4 separate regions of the Homo sapiens genome follow, and all the other regions are linked to region 3. Evidence: promoter capture Hi-C in human tissues and cell types (Jung and others, 2019). All regions are on one chromosome and are shown on one strand. Each heading gives the region's core, a stretch centred on a gene start or on the middle of the fragment in contact. The rest is flanking DNA. Distances are from core to core; before and after follow the strand shown.

Region 1 (6,537 bases), core at 1,484-3,983, 300 kb after region 3:
ATTTCCTGACATATAGCATTTGGTGTGTTAACCATCCTTTCCTTGGGAACACATTTTTCTCTTAGCTTCTGTGATACCTTTTTTGTTTTTTAGATTTGACAGACATGTGCTCTTTTTCCCCTGACCATTTCTAAAATTTTGATGGTTTCCATTTGGTTATTACTCTTTACTTCTCATATTCTCCTTGAGTGATGTCCACTATCCATGGCTTCAACTACTACCTATATGCAAGCAACTGTTAAAACAACCTGTTTTGCTTTTTGGTGGTGATGGCGGTATATCTCTGTAAATTTACAAAAATATCATTGAATTGTAGGTTTTAAATATTTTCAGCCTAGGCCTTTGCCTACAACCGAGATAACATTTGTCCATTACCCATGTCCATTCAGATTTTGCTTGAATACTTCAAACAGCATGCTGAATAATCTCATTTTTCAACCCAACACTGCTGCTTTATTCCCCAAGGTTCCATATTAGACCACTTTCACCACTCTATGGAGAGTACTCTGCATGAGCTTATCACTCCAATTACTATGTGAAGGCTTACAAATCCAAAATTTTATTCCCAGCTAAGATCTCCCTCCTGCAAAAGAGCTCCTCTACCATGACCTACCTACTGGAAGTCATGCCTGTTTCTTTAACCCCAATGTTTAGTCCTCCATCATGACATTTACAACATATTGAATAAACCCCAAATCTAATCTCTCTTTTTTTTTTTTTTTTTTGAGACAGAGTCTGGCTCTGTCGCCCAGGCTGGAGTGCAGTGGCATGATCTCAGCTCATTGCAACCTCTGCCTCCTGGGTTCAAGTGATTCTCCTGCCTCAGCCTCCTGAGTAGCTGGGACTACAGGCACCCACCACCATACCCGGCTAATTTTTGTATTTTTAGTAGAGATGGGGTTTCACCATGTTGGCCAGGATGGTCTTGAAATCCTACCCTCAGGCAATGCACCCACCGGGGCCTCCCAAAGTGCTGGGATTACAGGCGTGAGACACCACGCCTGGCCTGAGCCACCATGCAGGGCCTAATCTCTTATTCCAAATTGTTGAGGGCCACTTGAGAAGTCATGTGGACTGCTACTATGGAATGCTAAGAAAGAATTGTTGGGCTGAGTGCAGTGGCTCATGCCTATAATCCCAGCACTTTGGGAGGCCGAGGCAGGTGGATCACCTGAGGTCAAGAGTTTGAGACCAGCCTGGCCAACATGGTGAAACCCTGTCTCTACTATAATACAAAAATTAGCCAGGCACGGTGGCGAGCGCCTGTAATTCCAGCTACTTGGGAGACTGAGGCAAGAGAATCACTTGAACCCAGGAGGCAGAGGTTGCAGTGAGCCGAGATCACGCCACTGCACTCCAACGTGGACAACAAGAGCGAAACTCTGTCTCAAAAAAAGAATTGTTGGTCAGGCACGATGGCTCACGCCTGTAATCCCAGCACTCTGGGAGGCCAAGGCAGGTGGCTCACCTGAGGTCAGGAGTTCGAGACCAGCCTGGCCAACATGGTGAAACTCCGTCTCTACTAAAAATACAAAAAATTAGCCAGACGTGGTGGCAGGTGACTGTAGACCCAGCTACTCGGGAGGCTGAGGCAGGAGAACTGCTTGAACCCGGGAGTCAGAGGTTGCAGTGAGCTGAGATTGTGCCATTTGCACTCTAGCCTGGGTAACAAAAGCATTTAAAAGATTTAGTATACCCTAAAAACAATTCTAAGTTATAATGGAACATATTTTCTTCTTTGAAAATGGGTTTCTTCTCTCCTACTTCTGCCATGTATAAACTGTGTGGTCCCCATTTGCCTTCAGCCATGATTGTAAGTTTCCCAAGGCCTCCCCAGAAGCTGGGCAGATGCCTGCATCATGCTTCCTGTACAGCCTGCAGAACTGTTAGCCAATTAAACCTCTTTTCTTTATGAATTATCCAGTCTCAAGTATTTCTTTACAGCAATGTGAGAACGGCTTAACGAAAATTGGTACTGAGGAGTGGAGCACTGCTATAAAGATAACTGAAAATGTGGAAGCAACACTGGAACTGGGTAACAGGTAGAGGGTGGAAGAGTCTGGAAGGCTCAAAAGAAGATAGAGATGACGAACTTCCTAGACTGGCTTTGGAGCCTCTGACTCAATTTCAGAGGATGTATGGCATCCTCTGAAAGAAACTTATACCAGCCTGGTATAAGTCCAGACAGAAACCTGCTCCAGGGGCACAGATCTCATGGAAAACTTCTACTAGGGCAGTGCAGAGGGGAAATACGGGGCTGGAGCCCTCACATCAAGCCTCCACTAGGGCACTGCATAGTGGCAGAAGAGGGCCACCGTCCTCCAGACTCCAGAACAGGCATAGAAAAGCCACAGGCATTCAACATGGGCCCATGAGAGCAGCCTCCAGGGTTGATCCCTGCAAAGCCAAAGGGGTGGAGCTGCCTAAGGCCTTGGGAGCCCAACCCTTGCATCAGTGTACCCTAGGTGTGGGACATGGAGTCAAAGGAGATTATTTTGTTTATTATTTTTGAGACAGAGTCTCACTCTGTTGCTCAGGCTGGAGTGCAGTGGCACAATCTGCACTCCACCTTCTGGGCTCAAGGGATCAGCCTGCCTCAGCCTCCCAAGTAGCTGGGACAACAGGCGTGCACCATGGTGCCTGGCTAATTTTTTTTTTTTTTTTTTTTTTTTTTTTGGAGAGATGGGGTTTCATCACCTTGCCCAGGCTGGTATCCAACTCCTGAGCTCAAGTGATCCGTACATCTCAGCCTCACAAAGAGCTGACATTACAGACTTGAGTCGCCATGCCTGGCCAAAGGTGAGTATTTTGGAGCTTTGAAGATGTCCTGACCGTTCTGCTTGGTTTTGCACTTGCATGGGGCCTGTAGCCTCAAGTGATCCACTGACTAAGCCTCCCAAAGAGCTGAGATGACAGGCACGAGCCACGGTGCCTGGCCCGCAAGACCCCGACTCGAGAGGAGGATCACTTAAGCCTGGGATGTGAAGGCTGCAGTGAGCCATGATTGTACCACTGCACTTCAGCCTGGGTGACAGAGCAAGACCCGTTCCTCCTCTGCCTCTCCCTAGAAGTCCTTAATCTTGTACCAAGCACAGTGGCTCAGGCCTGTAATTCCAGTGCCCTGGGAAACAGTAATATCCTGTGTCTTGGAAAAGAAAGAAGAAAGAAAAGGTAAGGAAAGTTAGAAAGACTTCGTGTTTTTATTTAAAAATCATGTGAATACATTAGATCTTCAAATAATTTTTTTAAGCAAGCAACACAAGCGAAGCTCCTTACTACATGTGTGCTAGAGGGTGGGTATATGGGTGGTGGTGGTAAAAATTTCAGGGTTAAATTTAGGCTCTATTTACCTTTGCTGAAGACTACAATCAATAAAACAAAAACCCAGAAAGGAAAGACCGAAAGTCAATGCCATAGTAAATCACAGAAGAGAAAAAAGTCTGAATAAAAGTTTTAAAAAACTTACTGAGATCCTGTCATCTTCTCGTCGTCTTCGACCTCTGAAGAGAGTTCTCCTTTTAATAAGAAAAAGGTGGGGGTGGGGTGGGGTGGAGGGACAAGTCATAAGTTTCTTCAGATATATACATTCTATCAAAGCCGTACACATTTTTTTTTTTTTTGAGATGGAGTCTCGCTCTGTCGCCAGGCTGGAGTGCAGTGGCGCGATCTCGGCTCACTACGAACTGCCTCCCGGGTTCAAGCAATTCTCCTGCCTCAGCCTGCTGAGTAGCTGGAATTACAGGCACGTGTTGCCACACCCAGCTAATTTTGGTATTTGTAGTACAGACAGGGTTTCACCATGTTGGCCAGGATGGTCTCGATCTCCTGACCTCATGATCCGCCTGCCCCACCTCCCAAAGTGCTGGGATTACAGGCGTGAGCCACCATGCCTGGCCAGCTGTATACATTTCAATTTAAACATCTTTCTACATTTGGGGCTAGTTTTCTCTATTACTAAAAGATAATATATTATTCTGAGGGATCTTGAGCCAATTTACTAAAAACTTTACCTACTACCACACCATAAAGTAAGATGAGCCCATTTGTTAGTAGTGATCCCTTCAAACCAGAACCATACTATTGTTTAATTAGGCAAGTTGGCAATATATAACCTCACCCCTATAGTTTATTTATATTTTGAGACAGAGTCGCGCTCTGTCACCCAGGCTGGAATGCAGTGGTGCAACCTTGGCTCACTGCAACCTCTGCCTCCTGGGTTCAAGTGATTCTCCTACCTCAGGCTCCCAAGTAGCTGGGATTACAGGCGCCTGCCACCATGCCCAGCTAATTTTTGTATTTTTTCATAGAGACAGGGTTTCACCATGTTGGCCAGGCTGGTCTTGAACTCCTGACCTGAGATGATCCTCCCACCACGGCCTCCCAAAGTGTTGGGATTACAGGTGTGAGCCACCGCACCCAGCCACTTCTATAGTTTAAAAGCTGGAAGAAATTAAAACCATAAGGCAAATGGATATGTTAATTTTCTAAGCTATTCTTTCTTATATGAGCTATAAGGAACTTCAGAATAACTTTATAAACCTCTGATTCAGAGCTATATTCTGTATGGGCACTCTATTTCTTAATAATTATAAAAAGCAACCAACTCATGTTCTGAAAATAACGTATTTATTTAATATAACCATATACCAATAATTAAATGCTCATTTAATTATTATGAAGATCATGTTCTTCAATTATTCAGGATGATCACATTATTATCAAAGGTTTTCAGGTACTTTATTTTCTTACCTGCCCCTACCATAGTCCCCATTCTGTTCCACCTGCAAAGTGGAAGTCTCCTTCTGAAGGTAAGTTTGCTCCTGATGCCCAGTTACTGTGGGGTTATGCCGTTCAGCTGGAAAGTTTCTTGAACTATATCTGTTCAACTGTCCATCCCCCAAGGATACAGAGCCCTCTGTTGAGTGTTCTGAACCACCAGATGACCTAAACTGAGGCTTCACACTATAGGAAATACAAAATGATATACACAAAGCAGTAAATCGAGACAGAAAAACATCTTTCCTTAGGTAAAAAATTGGCTCCTGTTGTACTGGGGTTTTCAAAAAATTAAGTTAAACACAAAAGAATAATGTTGTAAAAGTGTTGCCCCTTTTACATTCCAGATGTTATTTTAAAAAGTGACGTAAACTTTTTTGAGATGGAGTCTCGCTCTGTTGCCCAGGCTGGAGCGCAGTGGCACATCTCAGCTCACTGCAAGCTCTGCCTTCCGGGTTCACGCCATTCTCCTGCCTCAGCCTCCCAAGTAGCTGGGACTACAGGCGCCAGCCACCACGTCCAGCTAATTTTTTGTATTTTGTTTAGTAGAGATGGGGTTTCACCGTGTTAGCCAGGATGGTCTCGATCTCCTGACCTTGTGATATGCCTGCCTTGGCCTCCCAAAGTGCTGGGATTACAGGTGTGAGCCACCGTGCCAGGCCAAAGTGAAGTAAATTTTACATTAAAAAATGTTGTGGGCTGGACACAGTGGCTCACGCCTGTAATCTCAGCACTTTGGGAGGCTGAGGCAGGAGGATTGTTTGAGATCTGGGGTTCGACACCAGCTGGGGCAACACAGCAAGACCCCATCACTGCAAAAAAAAATTAAAATGTGCAGTGGTATGCACCTATAATATGCCCAGCTACTTGGAAGGCTGAGGCAGAAGACTGCTTGGGCCCAGGAGTTTGAGGCTGCAGCGAGCTATGATTGCACAACTGAATTCATGCACAGGCATCAGAGAAAACCCTATCTCTAAGACAATAATATACATATATTTTAAGTTGTGTTTGGAGAGACGGGGGAAAATCCAAAGTTCTTTGAAAGAAACTTACTTCTACCTTAATACTCAGAATTAGGATTTTAGCTAATGTCACTGGAGGCACTCTCGACATGTTTAAATCAGCCAGGTTTTAAGCTTATGAGTCTATGCAATGCATTCTTCTTCTTCTTTTTTTTTTTTTTGGTGAGATGGAGTCTTGCTCTGTTGCCCGGGCTGGAGCGCAGTGGTGCAATCTCGGCTCACTGCAACCTCTGCCTCCCAGATGCAAGCGATTCTCCTGCCTCAGCCTCCCAAGTAGCTGGACTACAGGCATATGCCACCACACCCGGCTAATTTTGTATTTTCAGTAGAGACAGGGTTTTGCCATGTTGGCCAGGCTGGTCTTGAACTCTTGACCTCGTGAACCGCCCACCTTGGCCTCCCAAAGTGTCGGGATTACAGGCATGAGCCATCACACCTGGCCTATAACACCCTTTTTTTTTTTTTTTTTTTTTTTTGATACGGAGTCTTGCTCTGTCGCCAGGCTGGAGTGCAATGGCGCGATCTCAGGTCACTGCAACCTCCGCCTCCCGGGTTCAAGAGATTCTCCTGCCTCAGCCTCCCGAGTAGCTGGGACTATAGGCACGTGCCACCACACCTAGATAATTTTTGTATTTTTAGTAGAGATGGGGTTTCACCATGTTGGCCACGATGGTCTCGATCTCCTGACCTGGTGATCTGCTCACCTCGGCCTCCCAGAGTGCTGGGATTACAGGTGTGA
Region 2 (5,588 bases), core at 94-2,593, 480 kb before region 3:
CCTGTGGGTGTTGCCAGGATCAGCCAGCTGGTTTTCCCCAGGAGACCTCTATCCTGCAGTAACCTCTACATTAAAATGCTAATAGGAAAGAATGGAAGGGCTTCCTGACTTCCTGTGTAAACACTTAAAAGGGACTTCTGGAGACCACTCATTTTGTCATGTTCTGTCCCTGGGTAATGACTTTAGGGTGGGACTTTCACGCTCTGAAGGATAAATAAACCCGTAGCAGGAGGGGGTGCAGGATCTATTTTAGGGTAGAGGAGAGGCCTGTTTCAGAACCTTTCAAATTGCAGGGCCTATCCTGGAAGTGTAGAAAAGGGTTTTTAATAGGAGAGGAGCACTATTTCATTATGTTAAAATAATGTTTACAAAGAATTAGTAAGAATGCTGCAAGAAAATGCACATGCTATATAATATAATGTAAATATATACACATACAACTCATTTGATCTCACTTATTGTAAAAATATGCATTCCTAATAATGGCTTATCCTACTGAGTGACTTATTAAATGTCACAACAACGTTTTAAAGTAGGTACTCTTACCTCCATTTTGCAGATAGAGGTTAGGTAATTTTCCCAAGGTCACACAGCTAGTAAAGGACAGAGTTCATATTTGAAACCCAGTCTGTCAGGCTCTATAGCCCCTACTCTTAATCACTATATTATGCAGGGAGAAATCCATCAACATATTGTCTTTGGGTGGTGGTTTATTTTCTTCTTTATTCTCTAGGATTTTCTATTTGGATATACTCTAGGAGTTAAATGATAAACTTTTGAATAGGGAAGAAGGTGGGGTGGTGAAATTTGAAGGCCAAACATATGCTTTCAAACAAAAGAATTCACTCCATTTCCTTTTCCACTTTTCTACATTTTCCAGAAGAACTGATGACCACCCCAATTTTACAGCCCACTGAGGCCCTGTCCCCAGAAGATGGAGCCAGCACAGCACTCATTGCAGGTAATAGACTCTGAGCCAACTCCAAGGGACCTTCTGGATCAAGGGCATCTCTCTCCAGAGGGAGCCTGACCAAATCCATTAATGGGCTCACTCTGGCTTGTAAGTTATATTACACACACACACACACACACACACACACACACACAGCCATAAAAGACTCGGAGGCTTCTGTCAGAGGCACTACCAGTAAATGACAGGTTGGGAGGTGGCCGCAAATAGATATGCATACGGACGTTACACTTGAGTACGTGGGTAGGGACGAGGATATATGTGGTTGGTTGAGTGGGTGAGGAAGAGGGGGAGGATCAGATAAACCACTTCCTGTTAGGATAAGCCATTTCCTGTTCCCTCCTTCCCGTTTCTTTAAGAATCAGGAACTGGTTTGGGAGGCAGTTCAGTTTTGTCAGAAATCAAAAGCATGTGTCCTTAGCTTAAGCACCAGGAGACTCCAGCTATTATGTGCCATGGAAATTGGGGTTGGTGGGGGAACATGGGTTTGGATGGAAGTGGACACTAGTTAATGAAAACAAGAGGATCTTTACGAAAACAGTGACTAAATCAGATGACTCCAGGAACTACTGAGACATCCTCAATCCTGAAACATCTCTACATTTTCCCTCTCCTTTCCAAGTTGTTATCACCGTTGTCTTCCTCACCCTGCTCTCGGTCGTGATCTTGATCTTCTTTTACCTGTACAAGAACAAAGGCAGCTACGTCACCTATGAACCTACAGAAGGTGAGCCCAGTGCCATCGTCCAGATGGAGAGTGACTTGGCCAAGGGCAGCGAGAAAGAGGAATATTTCATCTAATGACTCCCAGGCCCCAAGGAGCTTATTCCTGGCTCCATCGCTAACACGTTGACTGCTTATTATGGGAAAGTTTTCTCTGAAGCCAGGGAGAAGCATTGATTGATGTGGGCAAATCCAAGCTCCAGCCAGGTCGCAGTCCCAAATGCCGACATCACTGACTCCAGGGACCAGGGACATGGAGAAAGCTGTTTATGATATCTTTAACCAGGCCCTCTTACTAGAGCTGGTGTTTGTGACTGGCCAACAAGATGTGGCTATGCCAGGGGACATCTGAGTATGTGCCCAGTCATCTTTTTTCACAGGTTGAAGGGAGAGAAAAGATTTTGAGTTAAGGTCATTGGCTGCTCTACTCTGTCCCCTACCTGGTCACCTAGTGATAGCCCCAGTGGAGATACTGTCCATACAAGGTCTTCCCAGAGGCTGGATACCACAGTAAAAGGCCAGGCCAGGAGGGGTAGGAGACTATGGAGATCTTACCTCCTGATAAATGTGCTACACCCCCTAATCTGAGCCCTTCCTTTCCGTGTTCCCCAACAACCTCATGCTTACGTGATTTTTATTCAAATTAAAAATTTTCATTGCTACAGAAATCAGATTCTCATGTGCAAGAAGTAACTACATTTTGACTTATTTTTGCTTAAACATTTTTGACATTTTCTTTTCCCTATTTAACGCCTTTACATATGTTCTCTTCCAAGCAATAAGAACCCTAGGAAAGTTCTAGAAGTTTGCAGAACTATCTCAGGGATTTGAGACAAAGATGGTGCAGGAAAGCTTGTTCCAGGGGAACATCATTAGAAACATACCCTGGGAGGGCCGGGTTCGGTGGCTCACGCCTGTGATCCCAGCACTTTGGGAGGCCGAGGCAGGCGGATCACAAGGTTAGGAGATCGAGACCATCCTGGCTAACACGGTGAAACCCCGTCTCTACTAAAAATATATAAAAAAAATAGCTGGGCGTGGTGGCGGGCGCCCATAGTCCCAGCTGCTTGGGAGGCTGAGGCAGGAGAATGGCTTGAACCCAGGAGGCGGAGCTTGCAGTGAGCTGAGATTGCACCACTATACTCCAGCCTGGGCAACAGAGTGAGACTCCGTCTCAAAAAAAAAAAAAAAAAAAAAAGTACCCTGGGAGATGAGTTGGTTCAAGCCTCCATCCTGGCAAGGGCCAGAATTTCCCAGAATCCCTTCTACATATATACAGAAGGAACCAGAAAAAATCAACCTACCACCTTTCCCAGTGTATCCTCAGAATCAAGCCAAGAAGCTTCTTGGATTTTAGTCTCAAGATAAGTTGTGTTTAAAAGGCACATTTTGGTATAAATTATTAGCTCATCAGATATTGTTCACTTTGGAATTAAAGCTAGATCTCCTTTGAAGTCTTAATGTATTGCCTCTGTTGTCCAAGCTCAAACCCAACCAAGTTAAGATCAAGAGCTGAGGAATCTGGCTGGGTGCAGTGACTCACTGCCTGTTATCCCAATACTTTGGGAGGCTGAGGCAGACAGATCACTTGAGGTCAGGAGTTTGAGACCAGCGTGGCCAACGCAGTGAAGCCGTCTCTACTAAAAGTACAGAAATGAACCAGGTGTTGTAGCAGGTGCCTGTAATCCCAGCTACTCAGGAGGCTGAGACAGGAGAATCACTTGAACCCGGGAGGTGGAGGTTGCAGTGAGCAGACACTGCCACTGCACTCCAGCCCGGGTGACAGAGGGAGACCCTGTCTCAAAAAATAAATAAAAGAGCTGAGGAATCTATCTTGGCAACCTAGATTCTATGAGTTTTCAGTATTTCTCCACATAGAACATTGGAGAAACTAAAGGTCATCCTCAACGTATACAAATTGCTATACCAGAACCTTTTCTTCAAGCCAAACTTTAGAGCAAGTTAGGAGAATCAATAGTTCCCTCATTTCTAAGTTTAGGTCCGAAATTCCAAAATTTGTAAGAGGTTGGAGTAAAATGATGAAAAGTTGAACATCTGGAATGGAATTCATGAAATGATCAAGTCTTAGGCTTGTACTCCTGCCTTTATTTCAAAGCGTCATCAAAGGAAACAGAGCAGCAGCAGCACCTAGCTGAATTCTAGATGGGATATAAATAAAATATATATAGAAGAAATCTAAAAACAAGCTAAGTAAAGAATCCTTGCAGTGAGGTGTAATGCAACTTCATCACTTTATTCAAATCTTCAAAATAGTCTTTATTCTACATTTTTAGTATAAAAATTCCACAAGTTAAGTGCACCACAGTGTAGAGAGAGACATACAACGCTGAACTTCCATAACAGTCAATGGTACAGTCAAACATCACATGTACAGAACACACAATTTAGATGAACTGAAATTATAAGATAAAATAAAATAAAATCCAATTTCAGAAAACAAAAATCAAAACATTAAGGATCCCTGAAATATTCTTAAACCCTAATGAGATTTCACTGGACTCAAGTCATTTTGTAGTGAGACATTCACAATATGACCCTATTAACCCAGTCTAGGAATTCTGGGGAGCCGAATGAGTGGCCGCATCAGACACTCTGACAAAAAATGGTAACCAGTTTTTGATCTGAAAACTCCTCTTAATTTAGCTCTGAACACATCAATCAAGCTTTTGAAATGCATCCTCCTCCTTGCCCCTCATATTTTAAACCAACTGTTGTTCACAGTACAGTTTGCACGACATCTTTGTTCAAACATAGCTCAGTTTTTCTGGCACCAAAGCAAATTTGGGTTAGGTTCGTGTATGCAGAGACAACCTATGAGGAGGGCCCATAAGGCACCCTCCACTTTTGCCTGAGGAGATACGAAAGCAGAAGTAATGGCATCTGTACTTGGGGCACAGAGAGGGTTTCAGAGGATCCTTGTGAAACACTAGTTAAAAGATGACGAGTGGGGAGAAGTGCGAGGAAAGAAGGAAATTAGTCTGACTGGCTTTCTGTCCTGCACCATTGATTCAATGGAGACTGGCGGGAGGAAATGGAAGACTAGGGTTGGAGATGGGATGGGTGGGGCAAGGGATGGAAAGGAAAAGGCAGACAACTAATGCGTTCCATTTATAACAAGTAATATATATCAAAGACTTAAAGGAGATTAAAGACCAATCAGAATAATTTGGCAACTTTAATTCTTAGGAAGATCAAAGTTCCCTCCAAACCTAATTTGATGTTTTATTACTAAAAGCAAAGACCAGTATGGTACAGTATTACTCCAGAGAAATTAAAGGAAAATCCTTAGGGCGGCTTCACCCACATTCATTTTATGAATGGATACCTCCCCTACCTCAAAATGCTTTAGGGAGGTACTGCTACCATTACATGGTTCCTTATTAAATTTGAAAAGTGCCTGAAAGTTTGGGCACCAGAAAGACACCCCAACAACATGTGTCTAAACTGCAACTTCAGGTTAATATGACTAAAGCAGTTACATTGTGAGAAGTGCTGAAGGTATGTGATGTCTTTCCCGGCACAGAGGTGGCCTTGGTTCCTCACCAGATGGTGTAGCCACCATCTGAACCACCCATGAAGAAGTTCCCCTTCCGCTGAGTTACGAGGACGTTGGCTCCCTGCATGACTGCAAGCTGAGCAGCATTGGGAGGGCATCCAGGAGGTGGAGGCTGAAAGGAAATGACATGATAGAATGGGCACAGGGCAGCTAATATAAGCGAAGGGGACATAGGGGAAGCAGAGGCCTGTTAGGATGAGGCAATGTGCTAACCAGCTGCGTTTTAAGGAGCTAGTTCCGCCACCAATTTGAGTTCTAAAGTAGGTCTATACTTTATGTGAACCCAAAGATACAAACAGGAAAGGGAGCCTACCACTC
Region 3 (6,031 bases), core at 3,498-5,997:
AGAAACAGTTTATGACCTCAAATCATTTAACAAACTTAATATCTGACCTGCATAATTAAGATTAACATTTTTATCAATTTTAAAGATGTGTTTATTTCCTAAAGATTACTAAAGTTACATGAACTAAAAGGCATTAGTTATTTTGCTTTCAAAATATTTGATTTAAATGTTTATTTTTGTTTAAGCTGATTAATCAGAGCTCTTTTATATAAATATTACACACGACACCTATATAGCTACACAGAAAGACAGATGATGATGATAACAGTGGTTGTAAGATTTTTCATTTGCCAGTTTTTAAGTTTCTTAATTGGATTACCGGCTTCAGGGTGGAGCCCTTGGAAGAACAGGGCCACGAAAGGGGTCTCTGGTGCCTCTTGTTTTTCCCAAGGAGTCCAGGCTGTTAGAGCTTGAATATCCACTTTTAATTAAACTTATTTTAACCATAGCACTCTTTAATAAAGTCCTTTTAGAAGTTTTTATGCCAAACGGCTGGTATTTCTGGCTTTTGAATTTTATCAAAGGTAACCTCCCAGGTGCTTAGAAAAAGGAAAATATAAGACAGTTCACAGAGGAGAAGAGAATAGACAAAGTCATGCAGATATTAAACCAGAAACGACTTACTTCCTAGGTGGGTAATTGAACCTGGACTGTTGCCACGGAAGTGCAAAAGCTGGCTGGGTGCGGTGGCTCATGCCTGTAATCCCATCAGTTTAGGAGGCTGAGGCAGGTGGATCACCTGAGGTCAGGAGTTCGAGACCAGCCTGCCCAATATGATGAAACCCCATCTCTACTAAAAATACAAAAATTAGCTGGGCGTAGTGGCACACACCTGTAATCCCAGCTACTTGGGAAGATGACGCAGGCAAATCACTTGAACTCGGGAGGCGGAGGTTGCAGTGAGCTGAGATCGCACCACTGCACTCCAGCCTGGGCGACAGAGCAAGACTCCATCTCAAAAAAAAAAAAAAAGAAAGTGCAAAAGCTTAGCTACTGAGCTACAGCACAGGGCAGTCTCTGTTGACCTTCCCAGAAGGAGTCTAGAGTAGTTAATTTTGAGCTTATAAGGGCTTTTAACTATTTAATATTATTTTTAGAGCTAACTATGACATGAATCCTGAAATTCCTGTTCTCTGAAGGTGGGGACCAAAAGAAAGTACCACCACATGGTTAAAAGGTCAAGCTCCCAAGGACGTAAAACAAGGTGGAGACTTCATCCAGTCTTTTATTTGTTACAGGGACCTGCAGCCAAGTATCTTACTGACCAGCTTGCTGGGTCATCTTGAAAAGCGAGCTTACAGGTGTTCTTTTTTTTCTTTTTTTGAGATGGACATGGAGTCTCGCTCTGTTGCCAGGCTGGAGTGCAGTGGCACGATCTCGGCTCACTGCAACCTCCGCCTCCCGGGTTCAAGTGATTATCCTGCCTCAGCCTCCCAAGTAGCTGGGACTACAGGCGCACGCCACCACACCCAGCTAATTTTTTGTATTTTTAGTAGAGATAGGGTTTCACCATGTTGGCCACGGCTGGTCTCAAACTCCTGACCTCAGGGGATCCACCAGCCTCAGCCTCCCAAAGTGCTGGGATTACAGGCCTGAGCCACCGTGCCAGGCTGATTTTTTTTTTTTTAACCATTCACTTAACCATTTGTACAGTGAGAGAGAAGCCAGAAATCTGACTGGTAATACATTCTTACCCTTTTGCCAGCATCCCAGGCTTCTGGGTTCCCTTTCCCTTAGTGGTCCTAGTGTTCAAGCTTGCAGCATCATTGCCCTGGGGGCCAAGCCGTATCATAAAGGAAAATTATGTTTTTTCCATTCTGGCCAGAGCAAAATACGTGTGATAAAACAAAGACATTAGCCACTCCGCTTAGCACCCAATATCAAACTAGCAAGGCTTAAATTTGCCCCCAGATGGGCCTGTCATCTTTAATTCAACCTCCGACTTGGAGTTTCAACATGTGGCCTCTAGGTAAGATGGTTGCCCTGAGTAATAGAAAAAATAAGAAACGCAAAGTAGATAAGAAAAGTATTGCCTGTGGCAGGGTGGGGAAGCTGAAGAGCTTAGGGAGGCCAGAGAAAAGACCCACTCATTGCAGCCGACAATGAAAACCTCAGGCAGCCGCTTGTACGCAGCAAAGGGACCTTTTCCAGCAGTCCCATCAGCTCTCAAGATTCCCCTTTTATGGGGGGAGGGGGGAGGGATAGCATTGGGAGATATACCTAATGCTAGATGACGAGTTAGTGGGTGAAGTGCACCAGCATGGCACATGTATACATATGTAACTAACCTGCAAAATGTGCACATGTACCCTAAAACTTAAATTAAAAAAAAAAAAGACTCCCCTTTTAGAGAGGAAAAAGCTCCCCATGTCCCACGATCCTGTTCATGCCTAACTCTGTCACCCACAGCCATCAGCAAAGAGCGCAAGGCAGATTAATCCAAAGAGAACAGCAGTTAATATCCCATAGTGCCAAACCTGTTCTTAGCTGAGAGGGAGTTACCTGAGAGGGACTCTAACTCCCTATATCTTAGAAGGGCCTCCAACCCAAGGTCAGTCAAGCTTAAGCGTCCTTGCCTTTTATTAAGAGGGGCCTCGAACCCACTGTCTTAGGAGAGACTCCTAAACATAAATACTGGGTTTCCGCAGTATAGTCGCTTCTGTGGCCACCACAAATACGTTACAGGACCCCAACACTTACCCAAAGGTAGCCGTTGGGTCAGGGTTTCTGCACTATAGTCCCTTTGTGGTCGCCAGAAATATGTTACAGGACAGGCGTCCTGATCCAGGCCCCAACTGAGGGTTCTTGGATCTCGCGCAAGAAATAATTCAGGGCAAGTCCACAGTGCGATGTAAAAGTAACATTATGAAGAAAGTAAAGGAATAAAAAGAACGGCTACTCCATAGACAGAGCAGCCCCAAGGGCTGCTGGTTACCCCTTTTTACTGTTATTTCTCAATGATAGGCTAAACAAGGGGTGGATTAATCACGCCTCCCCTTTTTAGACCATATAGGGTAACTTCCTGACATTGCCATGGGATTTGTAAATGGCGCTGATGGGAGTGTAGCAGTGAGGATGACCAGGGGTCACTCTTGTGGCCATTTCAGTTTTGGCCGGCTTCTTTACTGCAACCTGTTTTATCAGCAAGGTCTTCATGACCTGTATTTTGTGCTGACTTGTCTCATCCTGTGACTTAGAATGCCTTAACTGTCTGGGAATGCAGCCCAGTAGGTTTCAGCCTCATTTTACCCAGCTCCTGTTTAAGATGGAGTTGTTCTAGTTCACACGCCTCTGACACCATCTCTATTTAAAAACAAACAAACAAACAAACAAAACAAAACAAAAACTGGCAAAGATAGCACACCCTATATTTAAAGTCAGAAGGGACTGCCACCTGCTGGTGATCGGGTAGGAATGGACAGATAGCTCACAGACCAAACCTAACCCTAAAAGATAACGGCAAGTATTAAAGAGCTAATACATTCGACTTTAGGGCAACAGTATTGATTCTAATTAAGACACGGAGATAACTGCATATGATAAACTCCAAGAAAAAAGAGCATTTTAGAAGAACGCATTTCTGTTAACAAAAACCTCAGGTTAAAATGCATTCTGAGACATAAATGCCTACGAACTCATCACAGGTGAGGCCAGTTTGACAAAGATGCCTGCCAGATCCACGCCGAGCTTCTGAACCCTAAAGGTTCTCAAAGACTACCAGTTGCCCAATCTCTTCAAAACACTAGCGCCACAACCAGACATTATTTCACATTGCAATCATTTCAAAGCGATTCAGCCGCCAGCTGCACGGCGTCGATCAAAGTGAGAAATGCCAGGCTTCGTTTTTTGACATACAAGATCAAAGAGAAAGTCACCCTCGGCTGGGTCGCCCATCCCAAAGGGTACAGACGCCCTTGTGTCATTCCTAGCCAGGGGTAAAGCCGCCTACTGTCCCCACTCTGTCTCCGCTGCCAGGCGCATCTCTCCAGGACTGTCTGGGGCGTGCGCAATGCCCGTGCGTCGGTTGCCCGCTAGACTGCAAGCTCCAGGAGGGTAAGGGGCGCGCCTCTTCCCTCAGGGTCGCCAGCGCCGACGCGCTTCGAGGACCCTGTCGCGGGGTTAACCAGACCCGGGCTCCGCTCGGCGGACACCGCGCCGAGGCCATATCCGCGCCGCCCTCCGCCCGGCTCCGGGCCCAACCTCGAGACCTCCCACGGAGAGCTAGCGCCTGCGACTGCAAAGGGCGGCTTCTGAGGCGAAAGCCACCCCGCGGCGGGCGGTTTCGGGCTTTACTTTTATTTGGGGGCGAGGGAAAGGAGGAGACGCACGACTGGAAGGGCGCAGCGCAGCTCTGCACCGAGGCGCGGAGGCCGGAAGCGCGGGCGGCCCCTCCCCCTGCCGCTGCGCCCCTCCCCCACCGCCACCACCGCGCGCGACCCCCACCAGGCGCGCGACCCGCGCTGCGTCCCCGCCGGCGCCACGTTCCCGCGTCCTTCCCCGCCCGGGCCACGGGGCACGTCCCTCCCCGCCCCCCACTTACCTGTGGCTGCCGCCTCGCCGCTCTCCGGGGCGGGAACTTCCACTCCCCCCTCCCAGGTAGATCCGAATTCACTACCCACTTCCCCACCCCCTCACGCAGCGGGGGACAAGCCTCCTTCTCGGGGGTCAGGCGGGGCGGGGAGAATCAGTGTCACTTAACAGCCAACTGTCCTAAGCTACCGTTTCCTCGGCAGTCAGGGCCGCTACTGGCGGCATGATCTACACAAGCCTGGGGGCGGGGGCGGGGGCGGGGGAGGGGAGGGGGGCAAAACTGAGCACTAGTGTGCGTTTGGGGTAGGCTATGGCGCTGCCTCCGCGCGGGCCGCCGTCCTGCGTCACCGCGCTGCCCACGTGACGCGCCGCCATCTTGTACGCGGTCCTGACTTGTGGCTAGGGGTTCCTCGGAACGCGTTCCTCAGGCTGCAGCGGGAGAGGGACGGTGCCTGCGGTTCCGTTTCTCCTTAGGAGCTGTACCCCACCCGCCCTACGTCCGCTTCCGGAGGCCATGAGCAGCTGGGTGCTCGCGGGGGGCGTTTTCATCGATTAGTGGCGGCGCTGTCAACTCACCTGCCAATTGACCTTGACCGACGCCGGCCCTGTCCTCTTGGAAGGAGAAATGAAGAGTGAAGGCTTTGACTTCCTCAGCTTTTTTTTTTTTTTTTTTTTTTTAGATGGAGTCTCTTTTTTTTTTCCGAGATTGAGACGGGGGTCTGTGGCCCAGGCTGTAGTGCAGTGGTTCGATCTCGACTCACTGCAGCCTCCAACCCCGGGATTCAAGCGATTCTCCAACCTCAGCCTATGGGGCAGCTGGGACCACAGGCGCGCGCTACCACGCTCGGCTTGAAGAGATGAGGACTCTATGTTGCTCAGGCTGGTCTTGAACTCCTGGGCTCAAGTGATCCTCCGCCTCGGCCTCTCAAAGTTCTGGGATTACAGGCGTGAGCCACCGTGCCCGGCCTTACTCAGATTTTTCTTAATCCCATAAAGTAACAATGAGTTGTGTCCTTTAACCCATGTGGAAGGATTTTCTACAGAAACGGATTTACAATGAGACATAACGATGTGGCCGGGCGCGGTGGCTCATGCCTGTAATCCCAGCACTTTGGGAGGCCCAGGAGGGCGGATCACCTGAGATCGGGAGTTCGAAACCAGCCTGACCAACATGGAGAAACCCCGTCTCTACTAAAAAATACAAAAGTAGCCGGGTGTGGTGGCGAATGCCTGTAATCCAAGCTACTTGGGAGGCTGAGGCAGGAGAATCGCTTGAACCCGGGAGGCGGAGGTTGCGGTGAGCCGAGATCGCACCGTTGCACTCCAGCCTGGGCAACAAGAGCAAAACTGTCTCAAAAAAAAAGAAAAAAGAAACGTAACAGAGTGTTAATAAAATGTTATGCCGTCATTTTAATGCATTACAAAAACTTCAGAATATTTTTGGGTCTACCTCTCTGGAAGGGAGTTATGCCTTATTCTTAATTTTTAAAATTTCCTTGTA
Region 4 (6,490 bases), core at 3,854-6,353, 480 kb after region 3:
GTATTTCCCTTACCATAACACAGTTATCTAAAGTATTCCACCTATTTAATTATTCATCCCACTGAATCACTGTCTTGTTCTCCAGTGAATCCTCAGTGCTTCACACTGTACCTGGCATATTGTATGTACTTAATAAATATTTATTGTATTTAAAAATGAATGACTTTTACCTATAGAAGTATGAAGTAAGGGAAGCAGAATTTAAAAATTGTACTTACTCCAGCCTAGCTGGAGTAAGTACAACATGGTGAAATGTTGTCTCTACTAAAAATACAAAAATTAGCCAGGTGTGGTGGCGCACTCTTGTAATCCCAGCCACTCAGGAGGCTGAGGCAGGAGAACTGCTTAAACCTGGGAGGCAAAGGTTGCAGTGAGCCAAGATCATGCCATTGCACTCCAGCCTGGGGACAAGAGCGAGACTTCGTCTCAGGAAAAAAAAAAAGAAAAAAGAAAGTAATCCTATTTACAATAGCTACAAATAAAACAAAATACCCAGGAATTAACTTAACCAAAGAAATAAAAGAGCTCTATAGTGAAAATCATAAAACACTGAGGCAAGAAATTGAAGAGAACATGAAAAAATGGAAATATATTCCATGTTCATGGATTGGCAGAATCAATATTGTTTAAATATCCATACTACCCAAAGCAATCTACAGACTCAATGCAATGCTATCAAAATACCAATGACATTCTTTACAAAAATAGAAAAAGCAATTCTAAAATTTATATTTCAGATATAAATTTATCTAAAATTTATATTTCAGATATAAATTTATCTAAAATTTATATTTTAGATATTTTAGCCAAAGCTATCCTGAGCAAAAAGAAAAAAAAGTGGAAGAATCACATTACCTGACCTTGAATTATACTACAGAACTATAGTAACCAAAACAGCATGGGTACTGGCATAAAACCAGGCACATAGACCAATGGAACAGAATAGAGGATCCAGAAACAAATCTATACATCTATAGTAAACTCATTTTCAACAAAGGTGCCAAGAACACATATTGGGGAAAAGACAGTCTCTTCAATAAATGGTGGTGGGAAAAATGGATATCCAATATGCAGAAAAATGAAACTTAACCCCTACCTCTCAGCATATACAAAAATCGAATAAAAATGGATTAAAGACTTAAATCTAAGACCTCACACTATGAAACTACTAAAAGAAAACATTGGAAGAACTCTCCAGGACATTGAAGTGGGCAAAGATTTATTGAGTAATACCCCACAAGCACAGGCAATCAAAGCAAAAATGGACAAATGGGATCACATCAAGTTAAAAAGCTTCTGCATAGCAAAGGAAACCATGAACAAAGTGAAGAGACAACCCACAGAACAGGAGAAAAATATTTGCAAATATTTTCTCAGGATATATAAGGAGCTCAAACAACTGTATAGGAAAAAAAATCTAATAACTCAATTAAAAATGGGCAAAACATCCGAACAGACATTTCTCAAAAGAAGACATACAAATGGCAAACAGGTTTATGAAAAGGTGATCAACATAATTCATTGATCATCAGAGAAATGCAAATGAAAACTACAATGAGATATCATCTCACCCAGTTAAAATAGCTTTTATCCAAAAGACAGGCATTTATTATTATAAATGCTGGCAAGAATGTTGAGAAAAGGGAACCCTCGTACACTGTTGGTGGGAATATAAATTAGTACAACTATAACAGAGAACAGTTTGGAGGTTCCTCAAAAAACTAAAAATAGAGCTACTATACAATCCAGCAATTCCACTCCTAGGTATATACCCAAAAGAAAGGAAATCACTTTGTCAAAGAGATGTCTGCACTCTCATGTTTATTGCAGCACTATTATTCACAATAGCCAAGATTTGGAAGCAACCTAAGTGTCCATCAACAGATGAATGGGATAAAGAAAATGTGGTACCTATACACAGTGGAGTACTATTCAGCCATAAAAAAAAAGAGAGATCTCATGGGTGCAGTGGCTCACACCTGTAATCCCAGCACTTTGGGAGACCAAGGCAGGTGGATCACTTGAGCTCAAGAGTTTCAGACCAGCCTGGGCCACGTGGTGAAACCCTGTCTCTACAGAAAATACAAAAATTAGTAGGATGTGGTGGCATGTGCCTATGTAGTCCCAGCTACTCAGAAGGCTGACGTGGGAGGACTGTTTGAGCTCAGAGGTTGAGGCTGCAATGAGCCACGATCACACCACTGCATTCCAGCCTAGGCAACAGAGTGAGACCCTGTCTCAAAACAAACAAACAAAACCCCCTAGAAGTTCATATTTTGGTAAGAGTAAAAAATAATTTGGAAGTGGATAGTACTCTTTGGTTGACTCAATTCTTCCAACTATGGAAGGCAAGCAGAAGAGAGAATATGGTTAAACAGATCTTGATTCTCAAGTTTATAATCTAAGGTAAACAATATTTTTTCAAGAATGTTTACTGCCCAGGTGTGGTGGCTCATGCCTGTAATCAAAGCATTTTGGGAGGCCAAGGCAGGCAAGTCACTTGAGGTCAGGAGTTCAAGACATGGTGAAACCCCATTTTCTTTTTTCTTTTTTTTTTTTTTGAGACAGAGTTTTGCTCCTGTTGCCAAGGCTGGAGTGCAATGGCGCAATCTCAGCTCACCTCAACCTCTGCCTCCCGGGTTCAAGTGATTTTCCTGCCTCAGCCTCCCGAGTAGCTGAGATTACAGGCATGTACCACCACGGCCGGCTAATTTTGTATTTTAAGTAAAGACGGGGTTTCTCCATGTTGGTCAGGCTGGTCTTGAACTCCCAACCTCAGGTGATCCACCCACCTTGGCCTCCCAAAGTGCTGGGATTACAGGTGTGAGCCACTGCGAATGGCCAAAACCCCGTCTTTACAAAAAAAATTAGCCAGGCGTTGTGGTGCACACCTGTAATCCCAGCTACTTGGGAGGCTGAGGCATGAGAATCCCTTGAACCTGGGAGGCGGAGGTTGCACTGAGCCGAGATTGTGCCACTGCACTCCAGCCTGCGTAACAAAGTGAGACTCTGTCTCAAAAAAAAAAGAATGTTTACCTATCTATCATAGCTTGCCAGGAATAAAAACAAAATAAAAAACAAGAATATTTACCAAAAAAAAGACATCTGATTGATCAACTATAACTATAAACTGAAATGAAAAAAAAGTTTGGCAGTAAGTAGACTAGATCTAGATAAATAACAATATATGAGATTATTAACTATAAATAATTTTGGAACATTTTTCTTTGGTTTATTCCTAAGGACATGGCAGAAGTTTCATTTTACCAAATGCTTAATGAATTACACCTTTATATACTAAAAGAAGAAGGAGGAACAGAAATCTAAGCTCCTAGTTTGTCAGCTAAGTAAGACATGCCATTTTATTGAATCCCCAAAAGTCAATTAGGAATGAACCTGTAATTCCCATTAGGAAACTATGGTTGAAAAGTTAAGTAACTTGTTCAGGAAAGAACAAAGCAGGTAGGGTGGAAAGTGGGAACAGAGTTAACATTTATTATCAAGTTTGTAGTAAGCAATACCAAATATTTTACATACATTTTCTTGTTTGAGCTTCACATTACCCCTAAAAATACATACTACTCATTAATGTGCTAATAAACAACCAGCTCCCTGGGGAGATAATGTGTGCATATCTATATCTATCTATATAAATCTATAAAAATGTTACTAATATAAAGCATGTGTAGCTTACAGCTTACAAATAATAAATATAAAATACTCTTTTTGTGAATTCCACACAGCCAGTTGATTCCACAAGCTTTCAATAATTTTTCCAAACTCTTCTACCTCAGCCAATTTATGATGGCAATTCAACCATCATTCGATGTTTTCAATCTGCTAATCTTTTCCCAACATATTTCTTGTCCTTAAGTGTGACATTTGATTTACTATTAAACTACCATTCCTCATCCATTACCATTTTTCAACCTCATACAAACTTATTAAAATGAAACTTCTTTCAGTTTTAGCACTATTGATTGCAATAATGCTATCTTTTTAGCTTTTTGTATAATTGCAGGGATTGTAATTTTGTTTGATTCTAAATTATTACTTGCAAAATCTTGAAAATAACTCAAGGCCAGGCATGGTGGCTCACACCTGTAATCCCAGCACTTTGGGAGGCCGAGGTGGGCGCATCACTTGCGGTCAGGAGTTCGAGACCAACCTGACCAACATGATGAAACCCTGTCTCTACTAAAAATACAAAAAATTGCTGGGCGTGGTGGCAGGCGCCTGTAATCCCAGCTACTTGGGAGGCTGAGGCAGGAGAATCGTTTGAACCTGGGAGGTGGAGGTTGCTGTGAGCTGAGATCACGCCACTGCACTCTAGCCTGGGTGACAGAGCGAGACTCCATATCAAAAAAAAAGAAAAAATAATTCAAAATACATGTTTTAAAATTTCACTTAAATGATATTATTTTCCACAGTGAAGAAGTCCAAGAAGGTGATTTTAACAAATAAAAACAACTTAAAATGATGTTTCTAATAAAAGACATGTATTCATTACTTTTTAGTAACACATTCTTAGGCAGAGGTTTAAATCTATTTTTGACTAGGTGTGGCAGTTCATGCCTGTAAGCCCAGTGCTTTGGGAGTCCAAGATGAGAAGATTGCTTGAGGCCAAGAGTTCAAGACCAGCCTAGGCAACATGTGACACCCCATCTCTACCAAAAGTTTTTAAAAATTAGCCAGGTGTAGTGGCATGTGCCTGTCGTCCCAGCTACTTGAGAGGCAGAGGCACGAGAATCACTTGAGTTCAGGAGTGTGAGGTTGTAATGAGCTATGATTGTGCCACAGCACTCCAACCTGGGCAACAGAGTGAGACCCTGCCTCAAAAAAAAAATTATTAAATGGAATGACTTCAAACTGATGACTTAACCAAATATTCAACTTGAGAGTCATGCTTTCTAATGCCAATTTTTAATTTTTCCAAAGCTTTTATAGTGCATTCTATTAATTTTTTAATTTTCTGAATGTTGGTTGATCTTAACTGCAGTGCAACTGAAAGTAATGAAAATTATTTAAGAATATCAATCATTAAAGTAAGGTATTACAAGAAATTAATATTAGCTGATCTTGTTGCTAGGCCAGAATAAAAAGAATGAGAAAAATGCATTTATAATGTAGGATATGTGTGCCATGCAGCATTAGCGGTTGGTAAAGTACATGTCCACCCATCTCAACCTAAGTACTTGGCTAATTTTAATAATTTCAGTTTCAAGTTATTTAGCTATAATTTCCAACTGTTTCCTTTTTTTGGGTTGGTGGTAAACAGAATAAATTTTATCCATAATATTGTTATTTTTTCTTGAGACGGAGTCTCACTCTGTCTCAGGCTGGGGTGCAGTGGCACAATCTCAGTCCACTGCAACTTCCGCCTCCTGGGTTCAAGTGATTCTCCTGCCTCAGCCTCCCGAGTAGCTGTGACTACTGGCGTGCACCACCACGCCCAGTGAATTTTTGTATTTTTAGTAGAGACAGGCTTTCACCATGTTAGCCAAGCCAGTTCTGAATTCCTGACCTCAAGTTATCCGCCTGCCTCGGCCTTCTAAAGTGCTGGAATTACAGGCATGAGCCACCGTGCCCAGACTATCCAGAATATTTTTAAATGATTGACTTGTTTTATTTCAGATACTGAATTATAATTGGTAACAGAACCAAATGATGACATTAGGAAATTTTTCTGACAAATCTGTGGCCACTCCAGTCTTCTTTCCCATTATTGTGAAAGCACCATTAAAACAAAATGCAGCTTACTTTCAACTATTCATTATTAAATTTCAAATATTCATTACTGAAGCCACATTTAAAGTAGACAATATCGGCTGGGCGCGGCGGTTCACGCCTGTAATCCCAGCACTTTGGGAGGCCAAGGCTGGTCGATCACTAGAGGTCAAGAGTTTGAGACCGGCCTGGCCAACATGGTGAAACCCTGTCTCTACTAAAAATACAAAAATTAGCTGGGCTTGGTGGTGCACGCCTGTAATCCCAGCTACTTGGTTGAGACAGGAGAATCACTTGAACCCAGGGGGCAGAGGTTGCAGTGAGCCAAGATCGTGCCAGTGCACTCCAGCCTGAGGGACAGAGCACAACTCTGCCTCAAAAGAAAAAAAGTAAAATAGACAATAATGTAGTAGAAATATAATCTGTGTGGCAGACACCAATTACTTTTTTTTTTTTTTTTGGAGATGGAGTCTCGCTCTGTTGCCCAGGCTGGAGTGCAATGGTGTGATCTCTGCTCACTGCAACCTGTGTCTCTGGAGTTCAAGCGATTCTCCTGCCTCAGCCTCCTGAGTAGCTGGGACTACAGGCGCACACTACTACACCTGGCTAATTTTTGTATTTTTAGTAGAGATGGGATTTCACCATGTTGTCCAGGCTGGTCTCGAACTTCTGACCTCGTGATCCGCCCACTTGTGATCTGCCCACCTCAGCCTCCCAAAGTGCTGGGATTATAGGCGTGAGCCACCGTGCCCAGCTGACACCA

The links. The method cuts DNA at HindIII sites, captures the fragments that hold promoters and counts their contacts. A contact is called where the count stands out against the background at its distance.
Region 1: a contact is called between a fragment that was not itself captured here and the fragment with the promoter of ATF1 in region 3, in 1 of the 25 tissues and cell types used here (stomach).
Region 2: a fragment that was not itself captured here is called in contact with the fragment with the promoter of ATF1 in region 3 in 1 of the 25 tissues and cell types used here (dorsolateral prefrontal cortex).
Region 4: a fragment that was not itself captured here is called in contact with the fragment with the promoter of ATF1 in region 3 in 1 of the 25 tissues and cell types used here (dorsolateral prefrontal cortex).

Annotation. Positions count from the first base shown.
Region 1 is chr12:50,459,560-50,466,096 of GRCh38, reverse strand. It overlaps LARP4 (La ribonucleoprotein 4), which reads right to left. Exons shown (of 16, transcript NM_052879.5): 11 at 4,750-4,962; 12 at 3,467-3,515. Among named protein-coding and RNA genes, the nearest start is that of SNORD133, 6.3 kb to the right of the region's middle. The HindIII fragment of the contact is 7,756 bases long and covers 1-6,537 here.
Region 2 is chr12:51,242,124-51,247,711 of GRCh38, reverse strand. It overlaps SMAGP (small cell adhesion glycoprotein), which reads left to right. Exons shown (of 4, transcript NM_001031628.2): 3 at 881-961; 4 at 1,593-3,154. The coding sequence ends at 1,771. DAZAP2 (DAZ associated protein 2) reads right to left here. Exons shown (of 4, transcript NM_014764.4): 4 at 3,779-5,382. The coding sequence ends at 5,254. Among named protein-coding and RNA genes, the nearest start is that of DAZAP2, 6.1 kb to the right of the region's middle. RefSeq lists an enhancer at 1-263. The HindIII fragment of the contact is 4,727 bases long and covers 1-3,706 here.
Region 3 is chr12:50,762,817-50,768,847 of GRCh38, reverse strand. It overlaps ATF1 (activating transcription factor 1), which reads right to left and starts at 4,747. Exons shown (of 7, transcript NM_005171.5): 1 at 4,541-4,747. RefSeq lists an enhancer at 3,884-3,983 and silencers at 4,404-4,493, 4,714-4,793. The HindIII fragment of the contact is 17,018 bases long and covers 2,159-6,031 here.
Region 4 is chr12:50,286,536-50,293,025 of GRCh38, reverse strand. All of the region lies in intron 1 of LOC107984505 (a long non-coding RNA gene), which reads right to left. It also overlaps the pseudogene LOC100418734. Among named protein-coding and RNA genes, the nearest start is that of LIMA1, 6.3 kb to the right of the region's middle. The HindIII fragment of the contact is 5,152 bases long and covers 2,528-6,490 here.